2 separate regions of the Homo sapiens genome follow, and region 1 is linked to region 2. The links are contacts of gene promoters, found by promoter capture Hi-C in human tissues and cell types (Jung and others, 2019). All regions are on one chromosome and are shown on one strand. The core of a region is centred on a gene start or on the middle of the fragment in contact, and the rest is flanking DNA. Distances in the headings are between cores, read along the strand shown. Region 1 has its middle 23 kb from the start of PRB2. Region 2 holds the start of PRB3 (proline rich protein BstNI subfamily 3).

Evidence for each region. Contacts are between HindIII fragments. The study calls those that stand out against the background at their distance.
Region 1: a contact is called between a fragment that was not itself captured here and the fragment with the promoter of PRB3 in region 2, in 2 of the 25 tissues and cell types used here (small bowel and thymus).

The regions. Positions count from the first base shown.
Region 1 is chr12:11,369,875-11,376,252 of GRCh38, forward strand. No RefSeq gene overlaps it. Among named protein-coding and RNA genes, the nearest start is that of PRB2, 23 kb to the right of the region's middle. The HindIII fragment of the contact is 3,197 bases long and covers 1-3,166 here.
Region 2 is chr12:11,264,592-11,271,183 of GRCh38, forward strand. It overlaps PRB3 (proline rich protein BstNI subfamily 3), which reads right to left and starts at 5,116. Exons shown (of 4, transcript NM_001394862.1): 1 at 5,015-5,116; 2 at 4,042-4,077; 3 at 2,585-3,557; 4 at 1,323-1,438. The coding sequence starts at 5,078. The coding sequence ends at 2,602. All of the region lies in intron 1 of LOC107987435 (a long non-coding RNA gene), which reads left to right. The HindIII fragment of the contact is 7,773 bases long and covers 1,952-6,592 here.

The sequences.
Region 1 (6,378 bases), core at 318-2,817, 100 kb after region 2:
AGCAGGCATTGCCTTCAAATATCACTCCTCTCAGGCCCTTTCTCTGACATTGTCCAATGTCAGCAATGAGTGAAAGAGATTAGTTTATTAGGGAAGAATAAATATTAACTATGAAATCTCCACACACAAATAAAACAGAGATGACAGAGGAGCTGAAAGAGGCCCTGTCAGGGAGTAAGGATGGGGTCAAAGCAAGGAGCAGGCCTGCAGCAGGAGCTCAGGCACCTTTTGGTCAGTTGAAGCTCTCAGCAATCCACTTGCCTTCTAATATGGATGCAAACATAACATGTCCCAAATAAGATCCTTGATTTCTGCATCCTAAACTGCTCTCCCCTGATGTAGTTTGTTATCTCTGCCCTTAAAAAAAACAAAACACACTGTGTAATTTGAACAACAGAAATTAATTTTCTCACAGTTCTGGAGGCTCACATTCCATGATCAAGGTGTTAACAGGTTCATTTCTTCTAAGATGTCTCTTCTTGGATTTGACTTGGTTAATTTAGTTTTTTGTCTTCAAACACCTTGATCATTTACTTTCTGAAAAACTTTCACAGTCTATAAGGTCTTTTTTCAAATTTTAGACTTATATATGTTAGTTCTGAAATTTCTATTTTATTATTTTCTATAGTTCCTTTTTCTGCTGAGAAGCTTTTTCCCATTTATTTTGAGAGTGTTCACATTTACCTCAGAAAAGTTGGCTATAAGAGCTGCTTTAAAGTCTGATCATTTCCATATCCAAGTTGTTTCAAGGTTGTCGTATCTTGATTATACCCTTCATTAACAGTTGGTCAATTGTTTACGGTTTGTAAAAGTATATTGAGTAATTTTCAATTTTATGCCTCACATGGGCATTTTTCTGTGTTTACAATACACAAAAAGTTCAACAAGGCAAGCTTTGGACATTGAAGGGTGGAGGCACTCAGGCTGCATCGTGATCCACCCACTGGCTCCACTGGCAGAAGAGTTAATCCCACTGACGTTATTCTGCTTGAAGCTTCTATGTGGATGATTCTCCTTGGCTCTTATGAGATAAGAGTGTAAGTATTTCACATAATACACACTTATAAAATTAAAAACACAGAAAAGTGTGCTGAATGGGTCCCAAGGGCCTTATCCACAATGTCTTCCTAACTTTTCATGTTTTGTACCCCATTTTCTCAAAGCTCAATTGAACTCAAGGACTTCTTTTTTCTTTTCCTCTACAAGAACCACAGAGTTTAACATTGGCTTCTTAGAGGCTATCCCAGTAGCCAGGCAGCCCTGCTCTCTTCTGATGGGGATTTACAGAATGCAGGAAAATGAGGCTGAGGTAGAAAGAGTGACTATACACCCAGCATGCTGGCTCATGACTGTAATCCCACTACTTTTGGAGGCTGAGATTGGAGGATTGTTGATGTCAGGAATTCAAGATCAGCCTGAACAATATAGCAAGATCTCCCCATGTATACAACAAAATTTACAAAATCAACCTCGCATGGCGATTGGCACTTGTAGTGCCATCTAATTCAGAGGGTGATCTGGAAGAATTGCTTGATCCCAGGAGTTCAAGACTGCAGTGAGCCATGATTGCACCACTGTACTCCAGCTTAAGTGAGAGAACAAGTCCCTGTCTCTAAAAAGAAATAATAATACTAATAATAACAATAATAATAATAAATGACTACTGCAACTGAAAAGCTTTTTTCCCCCCACCTTGGCTTCTAGCCCCAGGGTCTACCTCGTTTAAACACAACTCCAGTGTCTATGGATTCAACAGACTTGCAGTCTCTTCCTTTCTTTCCCCTTATATGCCACTGTAGCTCTTTCCTGTATCCTCAGCACACCTTCCCCTACTCTGACAGAATCAAGTACAATGGTGAATTGAGCAAGTATAGGCAATAGAGCTATAAATACTTATGTTTCTACCCTCCTTGATATTTTTGCAAGATTTGGAGATGAGTACGTAGGGCCTTTAGTCCTTTTTGAGCCAGGTCATCTCAGGCCCAGCCCGAATCCTTAAAGGAACTGAGATCCGAGTAGAGGAAAAGAAGTGATAAGAGAGATGTGAACAAAGTGTCTTCATGCAAGTAAGTAAGACACATTTACTGTCTAATTCAAGCATTGTAGTCACAGCCTAAGACTCAACTGAATAAACACGTGAATTTTAAGTCTCCCCAAAGGTGTGCAACAGCTTTGGGGCATCTTTAACCCTTTACCTCCTGTTGTCTTTGGAATAGAGCAAAAACTAAAGTGTTACATGGGAAGTTTCCTTCAATTCTACCACCTGGTACTCAGTTTACAACCATTTCCCAATCCTACTTGTTAATGAGCTATATAAAAAGACACAAATTATTGACCACTTGTCATACATTTTGGTCAACATGCCAGCTATTGATATGTATTTTTTACATTATTAACTGAAGGAAAATGGATGCCTTTTACAAATGTTATAAGATTACAAAACAAAAAAAAATGAAAGAAACCAAATTAGGGTTGTAATATGTCCAAAATTGTTTTCTTCCAGTTGGTTCTTGGTCTCGCTGACTTCAAGAATGAAGCTGCGGATGCTTGCAGTGAGTGTTACAGTTCTTAAAGATGATGTGTCCATAGTTTGTTCCTTCAGATGTGCAGATGTGTCTGGAGTTTCTTCCTTCCAGTGGGTTCTTGTTCTCACTGACTTCAGGGGTGAGGCTGCAGACCTTTTCAGTGAGTGTTACAGCTCTTAAAGCTGTGTCCAAAGTTGTTTGTTCCTCCTAGTGGGTTGATGGTCTCACTGACTTCAGGAATGAAGCCGCAGACCCTCTCGTGGGTGTTACAGCTCATGAAGGTAGTGCAGACCCAAAGACTGAGCAGCAGCAAGATTTGTTGTGAAGGGCAAAAGAACAAAGCTTCCACAGCATGGAAGGGGACCCAAACAAGTTACCACTGCTGGCTCAGTTGGCCAGCTTTTATTCCCTTATTTGGCCCTGCCCACATCCCGATGATTGGTATATTTTGCAGAGTGCTGATTGGTCCATTTTGCAGAGTGCTGATTTGTCCATTTTACAGGCTGCTGATTGGTGCGTTTGCAATCTTTTAGTTAGACACAGAGTGCTGATTGGTTCATTTTTACAGAGTGCTGATTTGTGCATTCACAATCCTTTAGCTAGACAGAGAGCACTGATTGGAGCATTTTTATAGAGTGCTGATTGGTGCATGTACAATCCTTTAGCTAGACACAGAGGGCTCATGGGTGCATTGTTACAGAGTGTGGATTGGTGCATTTACAGTCCTTTAACTAGACCCAGAGCACTGATTGGTGCATTTACAATCATCTAGCTAGTCAGAAAAGTTCTCCAAGTCCACAGTGGACCCAGGAAGTCCACCTGGCATCACTTCTCAGTAATGTGAAAGCCTAATGATTTACCATGAGAACTCTCATATAATTGCCCTGTTTGATAAGAGAAATGAGCAGGAGGAAGGTTGTGGTGAAGGACTCTGCTGAAGCTTTCCCAGGGATTCATCTAGTAAAGCTTTGACTTTCTCAAAATATTCTCAGAATAAGGAGATACTGTCATTCTCCAGAAAGTCAACCAGCAAAATGACTTGAGCTTTCCAATAAACTCTTGCCAAGATCTTTGTGCTCTCCTCATCCACTTTTGTTTTGACTGGACATTTCCGCCTCTTGGTAGCCATTGCTTTGATTGTATTTGTTTTCTGGATTTTACTGGTAAAGTCATGTGTTATCTCCTCTTATAATTCATTGAAGAAATGCTTATGGTCTTCGTTCTTCCTATTTAAATTTTTAGGGAAAGTTCTGCTCTTGTCTGTACTTGATCTTGGTGACACAGTTTGGGCATCCATTAAGTGAAAAGCTTACTAAACTTTAATCATTCAGTTAGATTCATGTAAACTGAACCAACTGAGAAGTCTGCAGTGTTGGTTATTGTGTGAGCTGCTAATCATCACACCTCTTCTCCTGGGTATAAAGAAGATGAATTTATTCCTTGCAATATGATGTGAATCATCTGTCACGATAAGCTTTAGGTTCAACATTGCCTCATTCCTTCTTGAAATGAACTCCTCATTGAATTTGTGAACTGCTGACTTCTTCAACCAATGTCAACTTACCACGTGTCAAGTAGGACAACTCTTTGGACACCATCAATGATTTTGCCTTCCTCCACCCAAGCTTCACCATAAATTTGATGTTTATACTCACTTTAATTTTAGAAAAATTCATGTTGGTCTTCTAGGGGCTCTTTTGAAACTGCTCTTATTTTTCTTGATGCCTCATACTAGCTCCTGTTCAGACATGTTATAGCAAAAGATTATGATTTCATTTTGGTGCCAAAACATTGGAATCCATTCATGGTGTTTCTTAATAGGATATACCTTTTCCTTCAACATTTGAACAACCCACTGCATATAGGAAGGCATCCTGATACAATAAGCTCTACTAGAGGTAACTTAGAATTTTGCAGCTGACTAGGCAGATTGCTGTCTTGTTTTTCTCTTAGGATAAATAGGGATGTTTTCTGAAGATGGAATATAATACCAGTGGCCAAATATTCTCCAGTTACATAGAAAGTTTAACATTTGTAACTGAGATTCACATTCTTTCAGAGAGACACAGAGTGCTTGGGCCAATCTGGTGTCCTGATGTTATTGAATGATTTTCTCTGGTTTCACCAAACATTGTTTGAAAAGGAAGCTGTTGATGGGCAGTCTGGCCTAGGTAGCTTATGGTGGCCCATCAGGAAGGAAAGAAACGCAAGAGAGAAGAAGCAGAGGGGAGAGCCAGGCAGATGTGACTCCTTGTGGGAATCAGTGGGGAAGCTGCAGTCCTGGTTAGAGACAGACTTCTCCTTGTCTGCTGAGTACAGCAAGGCAAGAGGTGATCCTTCCAAATATCACTCAACTCATGCCCTGACCTTCTCCTATGTCAGAAATGAGTGAAAGAGATTAGCATATCAGGAAGGACTAAATATCAGATATCAAGCTACCAGAGACAAGCAAAATAGAGGTTACCAAAGAACTGATGGAGACAGTGTCACTGATTTAGGATGGGGTAAAAGCAAGGAGCAAGATGGCAACAAAAGCTTAGGCATTTGTCCATGAGTCAAGGACGTCAGCAATCCACTTGCCATTTAAAATAATGTAACCATACCGTTTACATTACACTCCTGCACTAAGCAGGACTCTTAATTTCTGCCTCCTAAAACCTGCTCTCCCCTGAATTTCTTCATTATACCTGTCCAAGCAAAATATCACAGACTAATATTCTTAAGCAACAGAAATTATTTTCCGACACTTCTGGATGCTCAAGTTCCACGGTGAATGTGTCAGCAGGTCCAGTTCTTCTTGGCCCTGTCTACTTGGCATCTAGATATCACCTTCTTGCTGTGTCCTCCCATGGGGCTGCGTCTGTGCCTACGTACTTCTTGTGTCTCTCTGTGTGCAAATTTCCAGTTCTTATAAGGAATTTCCACTTTTTCTAAGGACATTCATCTTATTGGATTTAGTTCCACTGAAACTCCCTCATTTTAGCTTGATCACCTCTTCTTAGGGCTATTTTCTGAACACAATCATATTCTAAGGAACAAGAGGTAGGTTGGCTGTGGAGTTTTGTATACCTATGCCTATCATATTTCGCTAAATATTTGATTATATAGAGGTTATGTCTTTAGAACTTTGAGCTATGTGCAGACAACACAAACCTGGCCATTCATGGCTGACAGAAGGTTGGCCCTCAGCCCGGTCGGACCCACACAGATTGTCCAATATTCCTTGGATCTGGCTCCGATCAGAAAAGTCTCGGTGTTTTAGGATACAGGTGTCTTAACGAATTCTATTATTAATATTCGTGGAGAGGTTAAAACAAAGTTGGACACAAAATCTACCAGAGGTTTCTAGAAATGAACAGAATGAATAGAAGTTCTTGAATGAGCCATCCTACTTCATGTCTTTAAGAATTTTTTCTTGCTCTTCCCCTTTATTAGAATGTTTGATCAGATACAGTTTGGACTTTATGTCTTACAAGATTATATATATATAAATATAGGCTCTCGCTCTGTCACCCAAGCTGGAGGGTGGTGTCCTGATCATGGATTCCAGCATCCTAGAACTCCTGTGCTCTTGGGATTCCCCCCACTTCAACCACTTGAGTAGCTTGAATTACAGGTTCATGACACCCACCATGCCCGTTTATTATTTTTTAATTTATTTAAAAATTTTTTGAAGAGATGGATCCACAATTTGTTGCTCAGGCTGGTCTTAAACTCCTGGCCTCAAGGGATCCATCCAACTCACCCTCCCAAAGTCCTGGGATAACAGACATGAGTCACTACATTCAGTTATTCTTCTAGGAAAAATTTTTAATCACTCCCACTTACAATGAGTGGCCACAATTATATATCC
Region 2 (6,592 bases), core at 3,866-6,365:
GCAGGTTTTTGCTGATTGAAGTAATCCCATAGAGCATAGATGTAAGAATCAGGAGACAAAAGGGTCACATGCAGAAGCAAAATCCTTGATTGGGTAATGTGGTTCAGAGTCATGAGGGTAGGTAAGAGATAGGGGTAGGGAGGCTTCAACTACAGTAATAGGAGAGAAGCCAGAGAACTGGGATTGAACTGAATGTGGGTTGCTCAACTTGGTGGTGATTATGGCAAGATCCTTCTATTCCAATTTTTCTGAAATTCATAGTGAATTATCTGGGCTATCGGTGGGCACAGGGGCAGTTTTCTAATATTGAACCTTCCTTGCTTGAGAAGCAGACATGCCAATCTCTGCAAGGTTTTTGGTATGTATGTTATCTGAATAGTCTCCATACTCTAAGGTAGTTGTTATGATTCTTCTCATTGTAGATAAGGAAATTGACGCTCTGAGAGACCAAGTAGCTTTTTAAGAGTTCAGAGCTAGCAAGAAAGAGTTATGTCTTAACTAAAATCTGAGAGTGTCCCAGTTCTTTGCTCCTAAAAGTCATGCTGACTTCTTGATGAAATCCATTCAGGTTTCATTAAAGAAAGGTGAGGAACATAGGGAGGGAGAGAAGTGATCACTGTTAAAATAGGGTCAATGGGATAGAGAGGGTTCTAGGGATAAGAAGCACAGACCCATATTCATTCACTTGAAACCAAACTCAGTTTCTTAGAAATTATAGGGATTTCTTTTAGTTTCTATGACTTATTTTCCATTTGTTGTGTTTTTTGTCCTTAAAATTACTGGAATATCAGTAAACAATCTGAAAATAATTTTAAAATTTCAATTTGTGCTGTAGAAGCCAGAGAAGGGCCAGGCATGGTGGCTGACTCCTGTAATCCCAACATATTTGGAGGCCGAGGCAAGCAGATGACCTGAAGTCAGAAGTTCTAGCCTAGTCTGGCCAACAGAGTGAAACCCCATCTCACATAAAATTACAAAAATTACCCAGGAATGATGGTGGGATCCTGTAATCCCAGCTACTGTGAAGGGTGAGGTAGGAGAATAGCTTGAATCCAGGAGATGCAGGTTGTAGTGAGCCAAGATTATGCCACTGCACTCCAACCTAGGTGATAGAGCAAGACTCCATTTCAGAAAAAGAAAAAAATAGAAGTCAGGGAAGGAGATAAACAGTAAAATATTTTTCATGGCAGCTGGCTAAATTAGGATTAAAGAGGAGGGAATCTCCCTGGAAGCATCAAAGAGAAGGGGTCCTAGATGTTCTTATAATGTGTTCTTGGTCCTCACACTCCACATTCACAAACACTGAGAAAGAGACACCACAATCAGAAATTGTAAGCTGTTTATTTTATTGGTATATTAAAGGTAGAGCTATGACCACCTTCTTCCAATGTCATGGCATTTGAATCATTTGAATCACTGTCATCTTCTTGTTCACTTCCTGAAACAAACAAACAAGGAATTTCATAGAGCAGACTTGACATGGCAGGAAATGTCGAATTCCTCACTGGTGTTACTGCAGTAGAGTACATGAGATCCCATCCTCTCTCCCCAATCCCTTCAACCTCCTGTGATTCTTTCCTGATTTTTTCTGTGTTCACTCTTTTGATGCCCTTGCACACAATGTGCTCCAAATTGTTGCTGAGAAGATGAAGAGAAAAGATCATCCTTAGGTTGTTATGACTCATTGCTGTTGAATTTGTTCAGGGATATATTTACACATATGATAATCAGAACCTATTTTATAATAGTGATAAGATGAAACCACCCTCAGTATCCAGTGACAGGGATTGATTAAAGAAATCATGGTGCAGCCACACAATGGAGTAGCATAAAATTGTAAAAGCAAACAGAAAACCACTGAAGAGATGTATTTAGCTTCATAAACTGATGTGGAAATTTTCAAGAAGTGTATTTTTAAATGACTACCATATATACCTGCATATAAGTTATGGTATTAGTGGTAGGGTAAAAGAATGCTGTATGTCTATGCACACATAAATATTTCAAAGAGAAGATCCCATAAAGTCAACAGTGGTAGCTTTTTGAAGGAAGGAAGGTGAGTAGGATGAGCTACGCCTTTAAAATTAACTTCATATTTTTCCATTCCATTAGATATCTTTTGTTAGCTTAATCATGTACTTACTGAAAACTAAGTATGTAAAAAATGAGACACCATTTAGCTGCTGAAAGATCAGGGACCATTTGGCAGGAATACTGGACTCGAGAGGCTGGCGTGAGGCAGGAATGAGCAAACAGTGCTCAGGTGAAAAATTTAAATGCAATATCTCTGAGTTTGTGGACCGAAAGCAGAGCACCAAGAATGGACATGGTACTACTTCCTCATTGCCAACACAATTTAAGACAGATTGTATGGTATGTTGTTTCTCAACATCAGAGTTCCTTAAAGAGTTTGTTAGAAATACAGGGTCTTCTTACCCTATTCCAGAGTATCTGAATACAAATCTTTAGAAATGGGTTCTAGGACAATACAATGTCAATGGGTTTTTAGTTGATTCATTGGCACAATAAAGTTGGAGAACTGTAACACTTAGAGCACTTGGTGAAGAATAAACTGGAATCATACCTGTCATTGAACCTTGATTACTGGGGAGGCTGTCCCTGGGGAGGTCTGTGTGGTCTGCCCCCTTGAGGAGGTGGAGGTGGTCCCTGGGGCTTTCCAGCGGGAGGTGGCAGAGGCTGCTGGGGATTGCCTCCTGGTGGGGGTGGTCCTTGTGGCCTTCCTGGAGGAGGGGGACGTTGAGGTTTGTTACCTTCTTGTGGGGGTGGTCCTTGTGGCTTTCCTGGATGAGGTGGGGGACCTTGAGGTTTGTTGCCTCCTTGTGAAGGTGGTCCTTCTGGCTTTCCTGGACGAGGTGGGGGACCTTGGGACTGGTTTCCTCCTTGTGGGGGTGGTCCTTCTGGCTTTCCTGGACGAGGTGGGGGACCTTGAGGTTTGTTGCCTCCTTGTGGGGGTGGTCCTTCTGGCTTTCCCGGACGAGGTGGGGGACCTTGGGACTGGTTTCCTCCTTGTGGGGGTGGTCCTTCTGGCTTTCCCGGACGAGGTGGGGGACCTTGGGACTGGTTTCCTCCTTGTGGGGGTGGTCCTTCTGGCTTTCCCGGATGAGGCGGGGGACCTTGGGACTGGTTTCCTCCTTGTGGGGGTGGTCCTTCTGGCTTTCCCGGACGAGGCGGGGGACCTTGGGACTGGTTTCCTCCTTGTGGGGGTGGTCCTTCTGGCTTTCCCGGACGAGGCGGGGGACCTTGGGACTGGTTTCCTCCTTGTGGGGGTGGTCCTTCTGGCTTTCCCGGACGAGGTGGGGGACCTTGGGACTGGTTTCCTCCTTGTGGGGGTTGTCCTTCTGGCTTTCCCGGACGAGGTGGGGGACCTTGGGACTGGTTTCCTCCTTGTGGGGGTGGTCCTTCTGGCTTTCCTGGACGAGGTGGGGGACCTTGGGACTGGTTGCCTCCTTGTGGGGGTCGTCCTTCTGGCTTTCCTGGAGGAGGTGGGGTACGTTGGGGCTGGTTTCCTCCTTGTGGGCGTCGTCCTTCTGGCTTTCCTGGAGGAGGTGGACACACGGCATTCACTGAATAGTTGCCGCAAATTTTTACAGTAACGCAGCTAAATGGGGAAATGCACAAAAATAAGACCCAGACACTAATTTCTTTGCATTTTCAGTGAAGCTCTAGAACTCTGGAGTGGAATGCTGGAGAAGAAGGAAGCAGTTGAGGGGCTCTCAGTCTAAGGAGGAGTCAGAATAAGGACACTGGCCATTTGTCTGTCATCTCCCAGCAGGCACTCCTGGCAGGAGGGAAGTCAACCCACTCCCGTTTTCATCTAAGCCAAGCATCTCTGCCATTCAATTTGGTGGCCCTGCTCATGGTCCCCAAAATCAAGGTTGCATGAAGATTGCCTGCATTATTAGGGGGACTAATATTAATCAATTTCTAAAGGAAAATGTTGGTGAGAAGACACTGGAGAACTGATCCATTCATAAGCAGAAGAAGATAGTTAAAACAGATTGAGAGTGAATTGGGATTTACCTGATATTACGGAGGGAGATTCTTCCTGGCTGACATCTAGAAGAGAAGCACAGGATGATGGGAAAGGTTACATCTCGAATTTTGCAAGATTCACAGGTGTTCTACAGGGAAAGGGGACTTCTCACCACACCCCATGCATCCCCTAGGTTAGCTCATCAGCTACCATCTGTGAAGCTGCTGGAAGGGGAGGAAGGTGTAAGGGGAGGCAGGGTTGTTACCACACAGAGCAACAGCCATGAACTCAATATAGAAGAGCCCCTTTTTTTCTTCCCTAGCATCCTTCAAGACTTAATGCTAATTTAGTTTACACATGCCAGGTACTTCAATGTGATATTTTGGTATTCTTATGCCCTCCATCTCCTATAAATACATTGCTTATATTCACAAGCTTTCTCAATTTCGGTAACCAGAAGTAATTGTTTCAATACAATCTTACCTATACCACTCCCAGCACATTGAAATACTGTGTGTAGGGGAAAGAAAAATCACAATGATTGAATCTGATATTTCTATATCTGTAGTTAGACACAGGCAAGTGTTTTATCCAGTTCTGTCTCTGCAGTATCTCTAATGTGTGTTTATCTCCATCATCAATGCTGATCCACTAGGTAGAGCAAGGCCACAATCATCCCTGTGTACTTACTGAGATCAGTTTAGGATCTTCACAGCTGGACTTTCCTGAATCTGCCTTGCATTCACCACTGCATCCTTCACAGCACAGTTCTATCTCTCTATAAATGCAAATCTTACCTTCTCATTCCCCTGGTACAAATTCTTTATTGGATTTTCATTGTACATTAAATAAATTAGAAGCCCTTGGTGTGGAATGAGGGCACAACAGGTCTCCTGATCCTAGGCATGAAACCTCTGCAGCCCCATCTGTGTTTTCATTCTCCTCTCTTCCCCATAATTACAACTATCACCTCCTAAGCCCCAAGCAGAGTCACCACATCTTCTCCTCCTTCTGTCTTACCTTCATTTAAGCTCTGAGCTGAGCTCAGGGCCAGCAGGGCCACCGACAGCAGAATCAGTAGCATCTTGCTGGAGGCTCTGGAGTCACTCCCAACTCTGTGCTGGGAGAACCATGGCAGCTCCCTTTATAAAGAGGAGCAGAACAGTGGCACCTTTGAGCTCCACACTGGGTGGGCCTCACCACCCCAGAGACTGGGTTCTGCTTTCCTTACTGCAGGTCAGGTGTATCCCTTATTTCTGTCTGGGACTCTAGCCCAGAGGAACAGGTTGGGTTGGATGTTGTTTGTACCTTATTTCTAAAAGGTACAACTATGACTTGAACAAAGGTTTTAAAGGAACTGTGTCCAAGCAATCAGCACGGTGTCATAATTGAACTTCAGACGTCATTAGAGTTTCAATCTTTTTGGTAAGACTATTGTCCACTTTCAACTTTGCTATTTATTTCTGTGTATGTGTGTGTGGGCAGTGAAGCTACAGCCAGCGGTGATGATGATCAATATCTCTGGCTGTTTTTATAGCCTATTTCCATCTCTCGTGATGTGTGTGTACAGAGAGTATCACATTTAGCTTAACTTTTGATGCGATAGAGATAGTTTCTGCTATCTGGGAGATGTTTGAGGACAGCACACTCCTGGGCACACAGATGACAGAAGGCTGCCTCACAGCCTACTCAGGCTACAGCTATTGTTCATGCTTCTGTGGATCTCACTCAAGTCAGGAAAGGCTTCTTGTTGTGAAACACAGGAAGGCCAAAATTGTGTATTTTAAAGTATCTTTAGGGGTTATGAATGCAAAATGGACACACAAACCACGAGGAAATTTCTAGACCTGAGAAAACTGAATATATAGTTCCTTGCAGGAACCATGCAATATCATGTTGCCAAAACTTCCTTCATGCTCTTCCCTTTCTCTAGAATATTCTACAAAATTCACCCTCTGCTTCATTTCTTTTAAGAATTGTATTGAATTCCTACCTCTGATAATTAAGTGGCTACAATTCTACATTCAAATAAGGTAATCAGATACCCTCATTAAAGCCTCAATTGCATTGTATTGGTTTTCTTGGTTTAGTCAGTATTTGTGTTACCTGTTTTCTCAGATTGTTCTTCCACAAAGAGTATTTTTTCTACAATATTCTGATATGCATTCCTCCCTGACGTTCTTTCTGGTACTTCTTTGTTCATATTTTATTTTCTGAGTCAAGCTCATTTTGTGTAATTTTCTTTATATATCTGGCTTTTTTCCCCAGGAATTTGGTAAGATTTCCTTTATTTAATCTTCTAAGTAATAAGCTATAATTCTCACCACCTTTGTTTCATTCTTGTCTGTGTAATTTCACAATAAATGTTGTGTTTCCAAAAAGCCCTCTCAGAGTCCTGCATTGTTAGCACTTCTTTTAGCTGCTGATTCTTCTGTTATACCTAGTAAATCCCTGCTCATCAGTTCATGGAATATACAGGTTAGTCAGTGAGTCAGCTGCCATTTACCACTTAGACCTTCTGTGTGTCTTGTGTAATTGTTCACATTTTGTGCATGGCTGGTATTAATTTGAGGACAGCTTGGCTGGAGGTATGATGGA